Linked DNA regions of Homo sapiens: region 2 is linked to region 1. The links are contacts of gene promoters, found by promoter capture Hi-C in blood cells and fetal thymus (Javierre and others, 2016). All regions are on one chromosome and are shown on one strand. Each heading gives the region's core, a stretch centred on a gene start or on the middle of the fragment in contact. The rest is flanking DNA. Distances are from core to core; before and after follow the strand shown. Region 1 holds the start of SIK3 (SIK family kinase 3). Region 2 overlaps SIK3 (SIK family kinase 3).

Region 1 (6,912 bases), core at 2,999-5,498:
TTTTGGCATACAGAATTTCTGAATAATGCTCCTGTATCAACATTGCATGTATAAATTTAGCTTTTTTTCTTTTTTTTTTCAGAGTAGTAATGAGTTGGACCAATAAAAAGTGCAAAGCCTGGCTTTCTTCAAGTCCTCATGCTCCGAGAGTCTAAGGAGCAACATTGTAAGGCTGCAATTTTCTTTCAGGTTGCAGGTAAACTGCTCTGCAGGCAGCCTAAGTGTTCTTTGAAAATCACTGAAAATATGTGACATCTCACTGTTTGTATCACTCTCAGGTCAGACCTTAGGTCCTCAGACATTCTGTATCACTTCTAAAAGTTTCCAAGTTCCTATCACTGTCATTGAGAATAACTTGGTCTGCTCTTTTCAAATTCTGGAAACAGGACACAATGACATTACATAGGAAAATGTCTCGTTTTCCTCTTTGAATCTATCTTTTGCTTTTTCAGAAAAGGGTGAGTTGGTAATGATGGCTGATTAGGAGCTGGGTGAAGGGTCTATCTCTCTGCCTTTGTCTTGCATTACAGGGGCTCTGAGAATTCCACCCCCAAGCCACTCCTCTGAGTCTTCTTCAGGACAGGAACACAACACTTATAGGCCTGTATTTTGTTTTTTTTGTGAGAGGAGTTTTCACTGTGTTGCCCAGGCTGGAGTGCAATGGCACGATCTCGACTCACTGCAACCTTTGCCTCCTGGGTTCAAGCAATTCTTGTGCGTTAGCCTCCCAAGTAGCTGGGATTACAGGCATGCACCACCAAGTCTGGCTATTTTTTAAAGATTTTTGGTAGATACAGGGTTTTGCCATGTTGGCCAGGCTGGTCTCGAACTCCTGGCCTCAAGTGATCCACTCACCTCATCCTCCCAAAGTGCTGGGATTACAGGTGTGAGCCACTTGTGCCTGGCCAGGCCTATATTCTTTTTTATTCTTTTTTTTTTTGAGATGGAGTCTTGCTCTGTTGCCAGGCTGGAGTGCAGTGGCACGATCTCGGCTCACTGCAACCTCTGCCTCCTGGGTTCAAGCGATTCTCCTGCCTCAGCCTCCCGAGTAGCTGGGATTACAGGCATGTGCCACCATGCCCGGCTAATTTTTTTTGTATTTTTAGTAGAGACGGGGTTTCACCATGTTGGCCAGGATGGTCGTGATCTCTTGACCTTGTGATCCGCCCGCCTCGGCCTCTCAAGGTGCTGGGATTACAGGTGTGGCCTCAAGGGCCAGAAATACTTCTACACAATAAGCCATGATACTCTTCTTGGTGCTATTTACAAGTGAAGCCATCGCAGGCACTTCATTCAGTCTTACTGTCTTGTTGTCTTTATTCCTGCGCTTCTGCTACCTGCTCTGTCCTGCTTTCAAGACCTCTCAAAATACTCTTCTTCCCTGGGTCGAAACTGAGCCCAGTCACCCTGAACTTAATGGAGAGACCACTTTTCCTACTGGCTCCTACCTTGACAGGGATTATAATACAATGGGGAAGATCCTAGGTTCCAGAGGTAGGTTGCCTGGGTTTTAATCCCAGTTCTATCACTTTCTAGCTCTGTGATTTTGGCCAATTCCCCTAATCCCTATGTGCCTCATTTTCCTTATCTGCAAAATAGAGATATAATACAAACCATCTAATTAGGTTGTTGTGAAGATTAAGTGAGTTCCCTTAGGTACACTGTTTAGCATAACGCGTGGCAGATTGCTATTTCCTCTGAGTTTCTCTCAGAACCTAACTCAGTTCTTGGTACTCAATAAATCCTTATTAAACGTAAACATCTAAACTATTTTCCTTTTTGCCTGATGATCTCCTTTGATTACTCCCTTCTCTAATTTTCTATATTCTTTGTGCCAAAGAGGACTATTCTTCAAGGAGATCTCCAGCAAGTCTCTACCAAAGTCTCAATCAGAAACACCATCTAGTGACCTCAATCTATACAGGAAAGGAGCGTAAGTGACATAACACACAGCACACAGCATATGTTCTGGTCATTATTGAGGGACAAGAGTCATCTGCTTCTTCTCTGTGGAAATTAGAACAATGCTGCATTTTCTAGGTCCTTCCCAGAGTTGTTTTTGTTTTTGACACTCTTGAGAGAGTAGCAAAAGTTCTGATATTTGATGTTCGAATTACCTCCATTAGTGGAGGACACTCTGTGATCATACAGTCATCAGTAAGAATGGTTTCAGTGCTGCTCCTGCAGCTTCCACAGTGAAAGATTTTTTTATTTGCTTTACTAGCCAGCTAAGGTTTCTGTTGAGACACCCAGGGAGATGGTAAAACTGCAGCTGTAGCTGGGCACGGTGGCTCACGCCTGTAATCCCAGCACTTTGGGAGGCTGAGGCGGGGGGATCACGAGGTCAGGAGTTCGAGACCAGTCTGGCCAACATATCGAAACCCCGTCTCTACTAAAAATACAAAATTAGCCGGGCATGGTGGTGTGCGCCTGTAGTCTCAGCTACTCGGGAGGCTGAGGCAGGAGAATGGCTTGAACCTGGGAGGTGGAGGTTGTGGTGAGCTGAGATTGCACCACTGCACTCCAGCCTGGGTGACAGAGTGAGACTCTGTCTAAAAAAAAAAACAAAAACCCAAAAACTGCAGCTGTGAAGCCCAGCACCAAAGTTATAGTCCCTGCTAGAGGCAGCTGAGAGCCATGAAGTGATAGGAGAGGCAGGTCACACCCCATCATTTATCTGGGATGGAATGAGCTCAGCTGATGAAAGGGCTTAACCAATGCAAGAAGCCAAGGCCCACTTCATTCTTATCTTTAGTTGCTAATAAGGGAGCCAATTAGTGTTAATTGTGTTGGCAGTTTGGAACAGCTACCAGGGAATAGATCCAAGACCATTGTGGGATGACCCCTCTGTCCCATCTTAAGTCCCAGCCATTACTCATGGTTGGATAGGGAATTGGAGCACCAGGAGGTGTTCTTTGGTCAGCGAGTAAACACGAGTTATCCTTCCACACATTTACAGTGCCCTGGGTGTCAGTTTTTAATACTGTGCATGCAGTGACCTCACAATACAGTTCTACCATTGAGAGAGACATAGATATGGATGGATCAGGACTAGTCCAAAGGAATACATTTTAACATTGGAATATTCACAATCTTCCCTCCTTTCCACCCAGCCTGCCAAAGACTATTTTGTTGACAGTCTGATTTCCTACCTGCAACCCTCACCTAAAGCAGCTAAGTTAATCTATTTAATAAAGGGAAGGGGAGAGAGGAGGAGGAAGCCTGGGAGCTATGAAGGATGCAGGTAATAGGCAAGGGAAGAAAAAGAGATATGAAATTGCTGGAGTTATTAACTTGATGACCCTCAATGTCCTCGGAGAGTCACTAGGAAGGATGGAATTTTTATTATTTACTTATTTATTTTGCTTAACCGACTGTTGTTTAAACACGACGTGGTTCATTGGACAATGCGCACCACTGCTTCATCAGGGTTATACAAGCAACAGAAATAGTATGTAGGCACTCTGACAGACATCCCTGTAGAATTGTTCAGAGATGGGGGTGGTAGGAAGGAAAATGACGTACCTTCTTTGGCTGTCACCCACCCAATGACTGGAATGCCTGTTTGGACTGGCTTGTCCGCCCTTGAACACGCAAATCCTAGTTTCCCCATTCTCCTATATTCGGTGACAATTAGGTTGACTGTGCAGGGTGAGCTGGATTTTGTAAGAGGAAGGAATTTTACCGAAGAATTCCCCTGCGTTGTTACCAACTTGGTTACAGTTGCTTCAAGAGTGTAGCTATTCCTGCATTTGTGGCCTCAAGGGCTAAAGTGGGACAACGCTGGTATTTTTGGTGATGAGGAAACACTTTTTTTTTGTTAAGGGAGGTTGGGTGATCGTTGAACTGGGACAGAGGTCACAGCAGAGGTCACATTGGCGATTCGAGCGGCGGTGGGGGGTTGGCTTTGGGTCGGGCATCCTGCGCCCCCCACTCGGGAAAGGTGGCGGAGACTTCGAGGTTGGGGGCCCATCGAAGGTTCCCACCGCCAGCTCCCGGAGGGGGGCACCCGGGAGCCAGCGCCTCAGGAACCGGGGCCCACGCGGGAAGGTCGAGCCCGCCGGTGAGGTCACGGTTGCCATGGCTCCGGGCAGTGACGCGCGTCGGCACGTGACCCGCGGTTGCCATGGAGCCGGGCGCCGGTCGGCGAAAGCGCCCCGCCTCCCCGAGTGACGTCCGCGGCCCCCCCTTTCCCGCCCCCCCTTGCCCCCTCCCCCGAGCCGGCTCCCCGCGGCCCCGGAGGTTTCACTGCACAACAAGATGGCGGCGGCGGCGGCGAGCGGAGCTGGCGGGGCTGCCGGGGCCGGGACTGGGGGAGCCGGGCCCGCGGGCCGCCTGCTGCCTCCGCCCGCGCCGGGGTCCCCAGCCGCCCCCGCTGCCGTGTCCCCTGCGGCCGGCCAGCCGCGTCCCCCAGCCCCGGCCTCCCGCGGACCCATGCCCGCCCGTATCGGCTACTACGAGATCGACCGCACCATCGGCAAGGGCAACTTCGCGGTGGTCAAGCGGGCCACGCACCTCGTCACCAAGGCCAAGGTACCGGCGCAGGGGCCAGGCGGCAGTCGGAGCGTGGCGGGGCCGGGAGAGGTCCGCGCCCCCCAGCCGGGGGGTCGGGGCGGCGAGCGCGGCGCGTGGTGGGAGCGTTGGGGGCCGGGAGGCGGGAGGGAGCCAGCCGCGGCGGGGCGGGCGCGGAGCTAGGGACACCTGGGACTCGAGACGGCGGAACTCCAAGCAGGGGGCCGAGGGCACAGAGCACCGGCGCCCAGGAGCCGGGCGCGGGGAGGGGTCCTCGGGGCTGAGGGCAGGCGGGTAAAGGGGATGATTGGAAAGAAGGGGTCGGAACTCCCCGAGGGCCGGGAGACTGTAAGCCCAGAAGACTCTGGAACCAGCAGCTAGGGAATCATAAGGGAATGAGGGCAGGGGCATATGAAATGTGGACCCGGAGGATGGGGAAAAACAAGGGTGAAGTGGCAGACCCGGGCTTGTAAGGGGACCCAGGACGGCTGGGGCACGGACTGGGAATGTGCACGTCTGCAGGGCGCTGGGAGGTCCCAGGATCCTGGTGCCTTAAGACAGAGACAGGAATCCGCATTTGATCATCTAAGACTGATAGATGGTGCGAAGGGGATCCCGAGGAGACACGATTAGTGGAGGAGGCAATGAGGAAAATGGGGAAATAAGGGGGAAATTGCTTTGCTTGTCCACAGGAAGGGGCCCAGGGAATGGGGGAGTGAGGTGGGGGTGGGGGCTGTCCCAGGTTTATGATGGCACTAGGTAGTCAGGGGTTAAACAATTTGGGAGAGCTGATTGCTGGTTATTTTTAGTTGTTGGAGGGTCGGGAATTGTGGGCTTTGTAGAACCCAGGGTGGGCTTTTACTGGTTGGGGGGAAGCTTGTGATTGAAGAACCCAGACACCGGGAGATTACACTCATCGAGCCCTTAGTTCTCAAAGGGATTTGAGGCGCTATAGGAGTGAAATTGGCCAAGGTCAATTAGGAAGCTATATATGTATGCATGTAAAATTCTTTGAGGAAATATGGTAGCACTTTCATGTAGCCTTCGTTGGGAGGACTGGAATCTAAGACATCAGGAGGAATCTTTTGGTTTTGGTGGAACCCGCAAAGCCCATTTTTACTCTAAAATTTTCTTTGCTCAATATCTTACTTGAATGAATACTTTTAATGTAGTCATTCATTATGTTTAGAACTGCAGCTTGTGTTTTCCCTCAGCCTGAGGAATGAAGAACCCTTACAGCTGCTGCCGCCTCCTACCAAAGCCACATCAATTCCCCTCACCTCCTCAGCCTAGCCTCTGGTTGTCATGACCTACCTTGTTTTTGCTTTTTTGGCAGTGGCTTGTTTTCTGAAGCCAGTGACTTATCTAGGCCTTCTCTCCTGATCACTTGCAACCTGAAGTTCCTTCCCCACCATCTTTCTGCCTGAGGCTACAAGGGGCCCTTCTTACCAGGGTGTCAGGGTGGGTGGCTGTGGCGAATTGATTGGTCAGTTTCACTTCCTCTGGAGGGCCCTCTTCAGCCTTTTTGTCCGTTTTTATCACAGGGCCTCCAGTCTGCAGGTCAGAGCTGAATGAGATACCAAAGTCCAGGGCTCCCTCAGACCCTGAGGGGAAGTCAGGGGAAGTCGATTGAGCCAAGACTTTGGTGTGCTCCTCACTTGCCACCCCAGCCCCTCACCGTGTTTCCAGTCTAGTTGACTATTAGCCAAGGCAAACTTACATTTACAAACAATATGCCTTGTTCCTTGTTTTGCTATTTCTTTCCTTTTTTTCTGCCTATTTTCTGTGTAATCACTTTGTGCTCCTGTGGTTATTTTGCTCTGACCTCTGGGGGATAGTCTCCATGAACTTAATTGGTTGCCTGGTTTATGGTTTCATGATTTAAAGAATTTTGAATCTTCCAGCCCTTGGATACACCAAAATATTGATAAAATCTGTTACAGACAGGGTTGAATGTTTTCGTAAATGTAATTGCAAACAGTTGATTCTTGGCTTTAATATAAAAGAGACATTTCTATCTTCAGTAGTCAGCAAAGCCAGTGCCTAATTATGGCTGGTCTGCCCGCTTTCTAATTTTCATGTGTGTGTATATGTGCGTGCGTGTGTTTTTCATAGTTTTTCTCTGAGACCTTGGTATCCTTTAGGACTGCAGCATTTTAAACACTGGCTTGTTTACAAACGGGTGTCACTGTTTATGTTGGTTTTTATCTTTGATCATTTGTGGTATGCAGTTGTGCAATTCCTATGTATGGAAATATTCAAAGTCTTGAATGAGACTGAAATGGCTTGGACAATGAGTTGCATGTGTGAAGGAGCCACACCAGCATTCATTTGTGTTTCTGTAGCAGTGTGCAATTTCCTAGTTACAGTTACAAGTGCTATATCTTTTGCTGCTTAAAT
Region 2 (6,912 bases), core at 2,162-4,661, 140 kb after region 1:
TTTCTGCTTTGTTATAATTTTCATATGTAAGTACAATTAGGAGATTTATAGATTTTCAACCCCAATATAATAACATTCTTTGAGAGTTTATCTTTTCTTTACCTACTGATTTACCTTTGTTGTGGACACATTCAGTTTTTCAAGCAACTGGTGTGTACTTTACACCAAAACCTTTATTATATAGTCTTCAGTAATCTGTAGCTGTGAAACTCATACTCATTTATCTGTTTAGATATTCTCAAAACAATCATACCTGTGTGCCAGCCACCTGCTGTCTGACTTGGCAGTTTCTCTGTTCCAACTTTATTTTTCTGCTTTTTAGAAAACTCCCACTTTCCAGTTTGCAGCTAAGGTAGGAGCTGAGTTCCTTTCCCTGTTAAGTGGTCTTATCAGGCAGTTATGCCATTGCCAAGCAACAGTAAGTTCTCTCCTCTCAGGTGTTAGCTAGTAGGTAGGGTTGGCAAGGGGAGCCTGGCCTGCTGTGAAGAAGTAGACCAGTGTCTCTCTGCCACAGCCCTCAGGGTCGGGTCTTGCTGTGGGTTCCATCCTATGGCTCACTGTGACTTTCCTGAATGGAATGCGTTTATTTTTTTTCCAGCTCTGTTCTTTCCATGTTCTTCCCACATCAGCTGGCGGCAGCCAGTTGGTTCTGAATGCTGCCCACAAATTGTTAGCTATTTTGCTTCTTGGTCCCTCAATTTGTCCCTTGAATAAGGAATTGATGTGTTTCAGATCCAGGATTATGTTGCTTAGTGAAGCAAATCTAATCCTTGCCAAGGAATGCCTAAAGTTGAAGGCTTGATTCCAGAAGAAAATAAAATAACAACAGCACTACCTGTAATTAACATATATTGCCTGTTTACTGTGCCAGGCATTATATTAATCAGGTTGCATGTATTAGCTTTGTTAATCCCCAAAATCACTTTAAAGTAGGTTCCATTGTTGCCCACATTTTACAGATAGGGAGCCATTGGAAAATTAAGTAACCTGTTCTAGGTTATATATTAAGGGATAGTTCCAAGATTTTGAATCTAAGTAGCTTGTCTTCAGAGTCCTTGCTTTCAGTACTATATTCAACTGCTAAATAAAGCTTCACTTTGGTTTTTTTGTTTTGTTTTGTTTTTTTGTTTTGGAGAAAGTGTCTCATTCTGTTGCACAGATTGCAATGCAGTGGCGTGATCACGGCTCACTTCACCCTTGCTAGGCTCATGCAATCCTTCTGTCTCAGCTTCCTGAGTAACTGGGACTACAGGCACACACTACCACACCTGGCTAATTTTTTTATTTTTTGTAGAGATGAGGTCTCACTTTGTTGCCCAGGCTGGTCTTGAACTCCTCGCCTCAAGCCATCCGCCTGCCTTTAACTCCCAAAGTGCTGGAATTACAGGCGTGAACCACCGTGCCTGGCCCAAAGCTTCACTTTTCAATGTCTTCTGGAATCTGAACTCTCACTGAAGAGTAGACAGGAGTTTGATGTTTTAATCTATTAAAACTTCTTTGTACGTGCCTTCTAAGAACAGATTATATTCAATGCAATTTTTCCTGAAAAGATGAAGTACATTTGTTTGTAAAATTCATGTATGTATGTATTTATTTATTATAGTACATATTTATGGGGTACATTTGATATTTTGCTGCATGGATACAACATGTAATGATCAAATCAGGGTAATTAGGATATCCATTACCCCAAACATTTATCATGTCTTTCTGTTGGTGACATTTCAAATCTCCTTCAGCCATTTTGAAATATGTAATAAATTATTGTTAATTATAGCCAACAAAAGGCATTATTGCTAGTACAGATATTTCTTGACTTATGATGGGTTACGTCCCAATAAACCCATTATAAGTTGAAAATATGGTAAGTCAGAAATGCATTTAATTCACTCTATTGTTATCTACCCACGTGATTGTGTGGCTGACTGGGAGCCACACAATCTCTGTTTACCATTATGAAGATCCTATTGCTTCAGAATGCAAATGAAATTTAGAGTGAGTGCCTTGTGAATCAGGGAGGCCCCACTATATGACTCCCTGTGATCTCTTGGAGGTGAAAGAATGCACAAATTTCATAAGTTAACCTGAAGGTCACCCGCTTTTCCCCAGTTACATTGTACATGCCATCAATTAGTAGGGGGTGGGCAGAGGTGGAAGATTTCAGGCACAGGCCTTAGACAGTTGATGCCCTCTGTTATTAAGGTAAATAAATCCTAGCAGTTCTTCCCACCTTTTGCACATCATGGCATGCACAGAAAGTTGAGATTGGAGGTGATCCATTATTGCTTGTAACCCATTTCCAACACACTTGTTTGGAAGTTCTTTTTTTTTCTTTTGAGACAGGGTCTCATTCTGTTGCTGGCACGATCATAGCTCACTGCAACTTCAGCTCCCGGGATCAAACTGTCCTTCCACCTCAGCCTCCTGAGTAGCTGGGACTACAGACACATGCTACCATGCTCGGCTAATTTTTAAAAAGTTTTTTAGTAGAGATGGGGTTTCACCATATTGCCCATGCTGGTCTTGAACTCCTGGACTCAATCAGTCTGCCCTCCTTGGCCTCCGAAAGTGCTGGGATTACAGCTGTTTGGCAGCTCTGCTATGGGGATATATCTGCAAGTTTCTAAGCTTGTTATATTTATGAAAGCATTCTGTACATTACAAGGTGCCATTCACATGTAAGATTTTATTAATAATGACTATTAAGACCAAGCTATTTGTTCTAGGAAGAGACATTGTGTACCATGATTTTTTTTGTTGTTGTTTTGGGAGCTGTCCTGAGAGAAGCAGGAGCAGATGCTAGACCAGTTGTGGAGTTAAGGTCTTGTATGTGATCTGGTGCAGTAATGAGGAGAAGTAGAAATGCAGGTGGTCAAGGGTTATATTATCCAAGACTTCTTACAGGAAACCAAGCAGCTGGTGAGATCCTCATTAAATTCTCTACCTTCTTCTCTGCCTATCCCAGTTCTCTCTGTAGTGAAATTCTGCTTTCTTTGTCAAGTCTTTCCCAGACTTTTTCTACCTCTTCTCCTGTAGGTGAAGGTCATTCACCATCCTCTGTCTGTTGTTATACCTGGTACATAGCTCCATTGCTTGTACTTCCAATGCTGCATTGTTTTCAGTTCCACACATCTTTTTTCCTTTTTAGACTGTGATCTCCTTGAAGTTTAGGCTGTGTCTGATTAATCCTTGTAGCTCCAGCCACACCCAGCTCCTTTCATCACACTCCCTCGTTAGGCATGGCTTGAATGCTCTTTGAGTACAGCTGAAATTTATCTCCCTGTGCCTTTCTCCCGTGGGTCCTCATTTTAACACCTGAAACAGCTTCAGATAAAGTTACTTTTATGCCAGCCATTTATACATCTGAATAATCTGCCACGTATGGCTCCAAACAGTCTTTATTTCTCTGAGCTAAACATTTTTACTTTTGTAATTTTGTTTTCCTGATTTTTTCCTCAGTAAGTACTGTATATGTTCCCTTTACCTCTCTGGTGCATAGAATCTTAGAATGTTAAGATTTGGAGAGGACTAGAGTTTGACTAGTCTAGGTTCTTCATCTAACCAGTATTGCTTCCATACTGATTACATAATTGAAACTGAGATATAGACATATTTTGGAGCAACACAAATATTTTAAGTATTTCACTGAGGAAGTTTAGATTTAGTAAATTTTTAAAAGTCCTTCATCGTTCATTCTTCATTAAAATGTATTTGCTGATGAGTATCTTATTAAAAGGGGGCACATTGGAAAGATATGTTTTATGATGCAGTGCATGTATGCTAAAGAAAGATCTTCAGATTCTTATAACATTCTTATTAAGAATTTGATTCTAAAGCCAAGCTACCTAGGCTTCAATCCTGCACCTGCCACATACTAGGTGTAAATTACTTAATCTTGGGTTAATTACTTAATCTCTGTGTGCCTCAGTTTCTGTATTTCTAAAGCAAGGTTAATGATAAGGTGGGTGTTAGGAGGTTTAAATGAGTTAGTACTTCCAAACCACTAAGAGTTATGCCTGGCCCATAGTAAACATTTCGTATATGGTAGATGCTGCTACTGCTGCTGCCACCACCATCACTGCTACTATTATTATTATTATTGAGTTCTACAAGCATCTGGTGAGATGTGTAAAGCCCCTGTGAAAGTTCTCATAGAACCTTAGTAAGACACCATGTATTTATGATACAAGCTTCTTGCCTTTTTAAAAATTTTTTATTTTATTTAAAGCTTCTTGTCTTAATGAGAGACCCTGTATACCACTCTGCACTGAAACATGATTTGACCCAGACCGTAACGACATCTATGGAGTAATAAAGTATTTTTTCATAGGATTTTACCGTATAAGCAATTGAAGAAATGGCAGAAGACCCATTAGCTTTTGGAGTCTGTTCCTTTGAGACCAACTTGCTAGGAATCCATTTCCTATCTTTTTAAAAAGAGTAAATTAATTTTCCTCATTGACATTCTGTAAACAGAATACTGGCAGCTTATATTTTATGGAACGTAATGTTTTAAAGTGAACCTAATTTTTCTTAGTAAACTGCTTTTAATAATGCATCAGAGTAATTTTTTTCCCTCTGTTGTCAGGTTGCTATCAAGATCATAGATAAGACCCAGCTGGATGAAGAAAACTTGAAGAAGATTTTCCGGGAAGTTCAAATTATGAAGATGCTTTGCCACCCCCATATCATCAGGCTCTACCAGGTAGGATCATTAGTGTATAGCAGATAGCTGCAAAGAACCCAGAATATTGTATGTATGGCTCCCTTTGAAGAAATGTGGGTGGGTGAACATCTGTGACTTTTTTTGTTTCTATGTTAATCCTGCTATCTTTCCTACCCTTCTGTTTACGCGCTCAGCACTTAGTATCCTCAAGTTTCCCCTGGCCATTTACTAGTACGTTTTCCTTACCCAGGTAGGTCTTTTTAATTTGTTCTTTAAAATTTGATGCCATTCTTAGCAACAACTACACAAAATGTTAATTCAGAAGATGATGAGAATTTATTTTATTTAGTTCAGAGTTCTAACACAGGATGGGAAACTCAAAAAGAAGAGAATTTAGAGAGGTGAAAAGTTAGAGATGAATATAACATTTTTTTAATAGCATTATTTGAATACTAGTTTCTGTGATCATGTTATAAATTGTTATGGCAAAGGACTGCTTCTTGGATCAATCAAAACCTACCTCTTTTCTATTCTAATAGGATTGTAGACTTAGTTTTCCAAGGTAGTAATTATTTTGATAATCAAGAGACCAGATCAAGTGACCAGATCTCTCCAATAGGAGAGATTTCTATTTTAGTTTTTTTTTTTTTTGGTCTTCCCAAGAAACATGCATATTTCATGCCATCATCAAAATGATTCCCTAGCATAACTACAAAAGCAGTAAATCTGATGGCTGGAATTTCAAGCGGGATAGGAGGAGAGGACCTTGCCTTAGCAGGCTGGTGAAAGAGATATTTTGGGAGAGGTGGGGCTTCGGGATGCTTCTCAAATTGCAATGTGTTGGCAGCCGAGAACTTTGCCTCTGCATAGGCCCAACTCTACTTGCTGCTTTCTGCCAGAACAGCCATCTCTTAGTTCTGAAGGACGTGGCCACCCACTTGGTTATTTTGCTGCTGTTAGTCTGCAGTAAATGGTTACTGGCCCAGACATAGGACCATGTGTAAAAGTGGAGAAAGTACACCCAAGGCTCTATGGGCAAGCTTTCGTAGCCTCTTAGTTTTATGGAAAAGAAAACATGTTGTGATATTAACATGTGTGGTTAAAACTACAGCGTTAGAGCTCTTCCCTGGCATCAGCTGCTCACATAATGAAATTAGGTCAACAGGAGCAGACCTGTTGAAATTTATCAGCCTAAATTATGTTGAACAACGCCTACCTTCTGCCCCACAAGCAAACTTATGAAAGCTTCCTGGTGCTGCCTGAAGACCTATATCTGTGAGCTCACAGGTGTCTAACCTCAGCTTCCTTCCTATCCTGATGGGCTGAATAAATTTCTTGACCTTACCTTTTAAAATAAATCATCTTTAAATAATTGTGGGGCTTAGGCTGACCTTTCTCAAGAGGTTGACTTATAGCTATTACCCTTGTAACTGAATTCTGCAAGTTTGCCTGTCTTACCCAAGATTAGCCTATGAGGATTTCCACAGGTCCAGTGCTAGCTTTGAGCAGTGCCTTCTTTCAAGCTTTAATTTTGCTTTCTGGCAGCTGGGTTTTTTAAATTTTATTTATTTATTTATTTATTTATTTTTGAGACGAAGTCTCACTCTGTTGCCCGGGCTGGAGTGCAGTGGCATGATCTCTGCTCACTGCAGCCTGCGCCTCCTGGGTTCAAGTGATTCTACTGCCTCAGCCTTCCAAGTAGCTGGGATCACAGGCATGTGCCACCACGCCCAGCTAATTTTTGTATTTTTAGTAGAAACGGGGTTTCACTGTGTTGGCCAGGCTGGTCTCGAACTCCTAATCTCAAGTGATCCACCCACCTCGGCCTCCCAAAGTGCTGGGATTACAGGCGTGAGCCACTGCGCCTGGCCGGAACTGAATTTTTAATTGTATTTAGTTTTAATTAATTTAAGTGTAAAACTAAAAATAATTTTAAAAAGAATTGTTGAAATGATAGTATTTTGGATATATTGGGGTAAATAAAAAGTAGTATTAGAATTATCTTCACCTTTTCCTTTTTCCTTTTTAAATGTGGCTACTAGAAAAGTTAAAATAATATATGCAGTTCATATTATATTTCTATTGGACAGCACTGTTGTAGAAAGATATACAATAAGCAGAGAACAGTGTTCCTCTGGGGATTGAGATGGAGGAGATTGGGAAGAGGAAAGCCTTTGGTCTTTTGTTTTATAATGAGTGTATGTAATCATTATTACTTTTAAAAATGTTTGATGGAAAATGTAAAA

Evidence for each region. The method cuts DNA at HindIII sites, captures the fragments that hold promoters and counts their contacts. A CHiCAGO score of 5 or more calls a contact.
Region 2: a fragment that was not itself captured here is called in contact with the fragment with the promoter of SIK3 in region 1 in 17 of 17 cell types (total CD8 T cells, naive B cells, naive CD8 T cells and 14 more); the score reaches 31.8 in total CD8 T cells.

The regions. Positions count from the first base shown.
Region 1 is chr11:117,095,764-117,102,675 of GRCh38, reverse strand. SIK3 (SIK family kinase 3) reads left to right here and starts at 4,248. Exons shown (of 25, transcript NM_001366686.3): 1 at 4,248-4,533. The coding sequence starts at 4,261. RefSeq lists silencers at 4,060-4,239, 4,320-4,369 and an enhancer at 5,691-5,740. The HindIII fragment of the contact is 6,059 bases long and covers 1-5,390 here.
Region 2 is chr11:116,954,741-116,961,652 of GRCh38, reverse strand. SIK3 (SIK family kinase 3) reads left to right here. Exons shown (of 25, transcript NM_001366686.3): 2 at 4,589-4,705. Among named protein-coding and RNA genes, the nearest start is that of APOA1, 120 kb to the right of the region's middle. The HindIII fragment of the contact is 1,562 bases long and covers 2,631-4,192 here.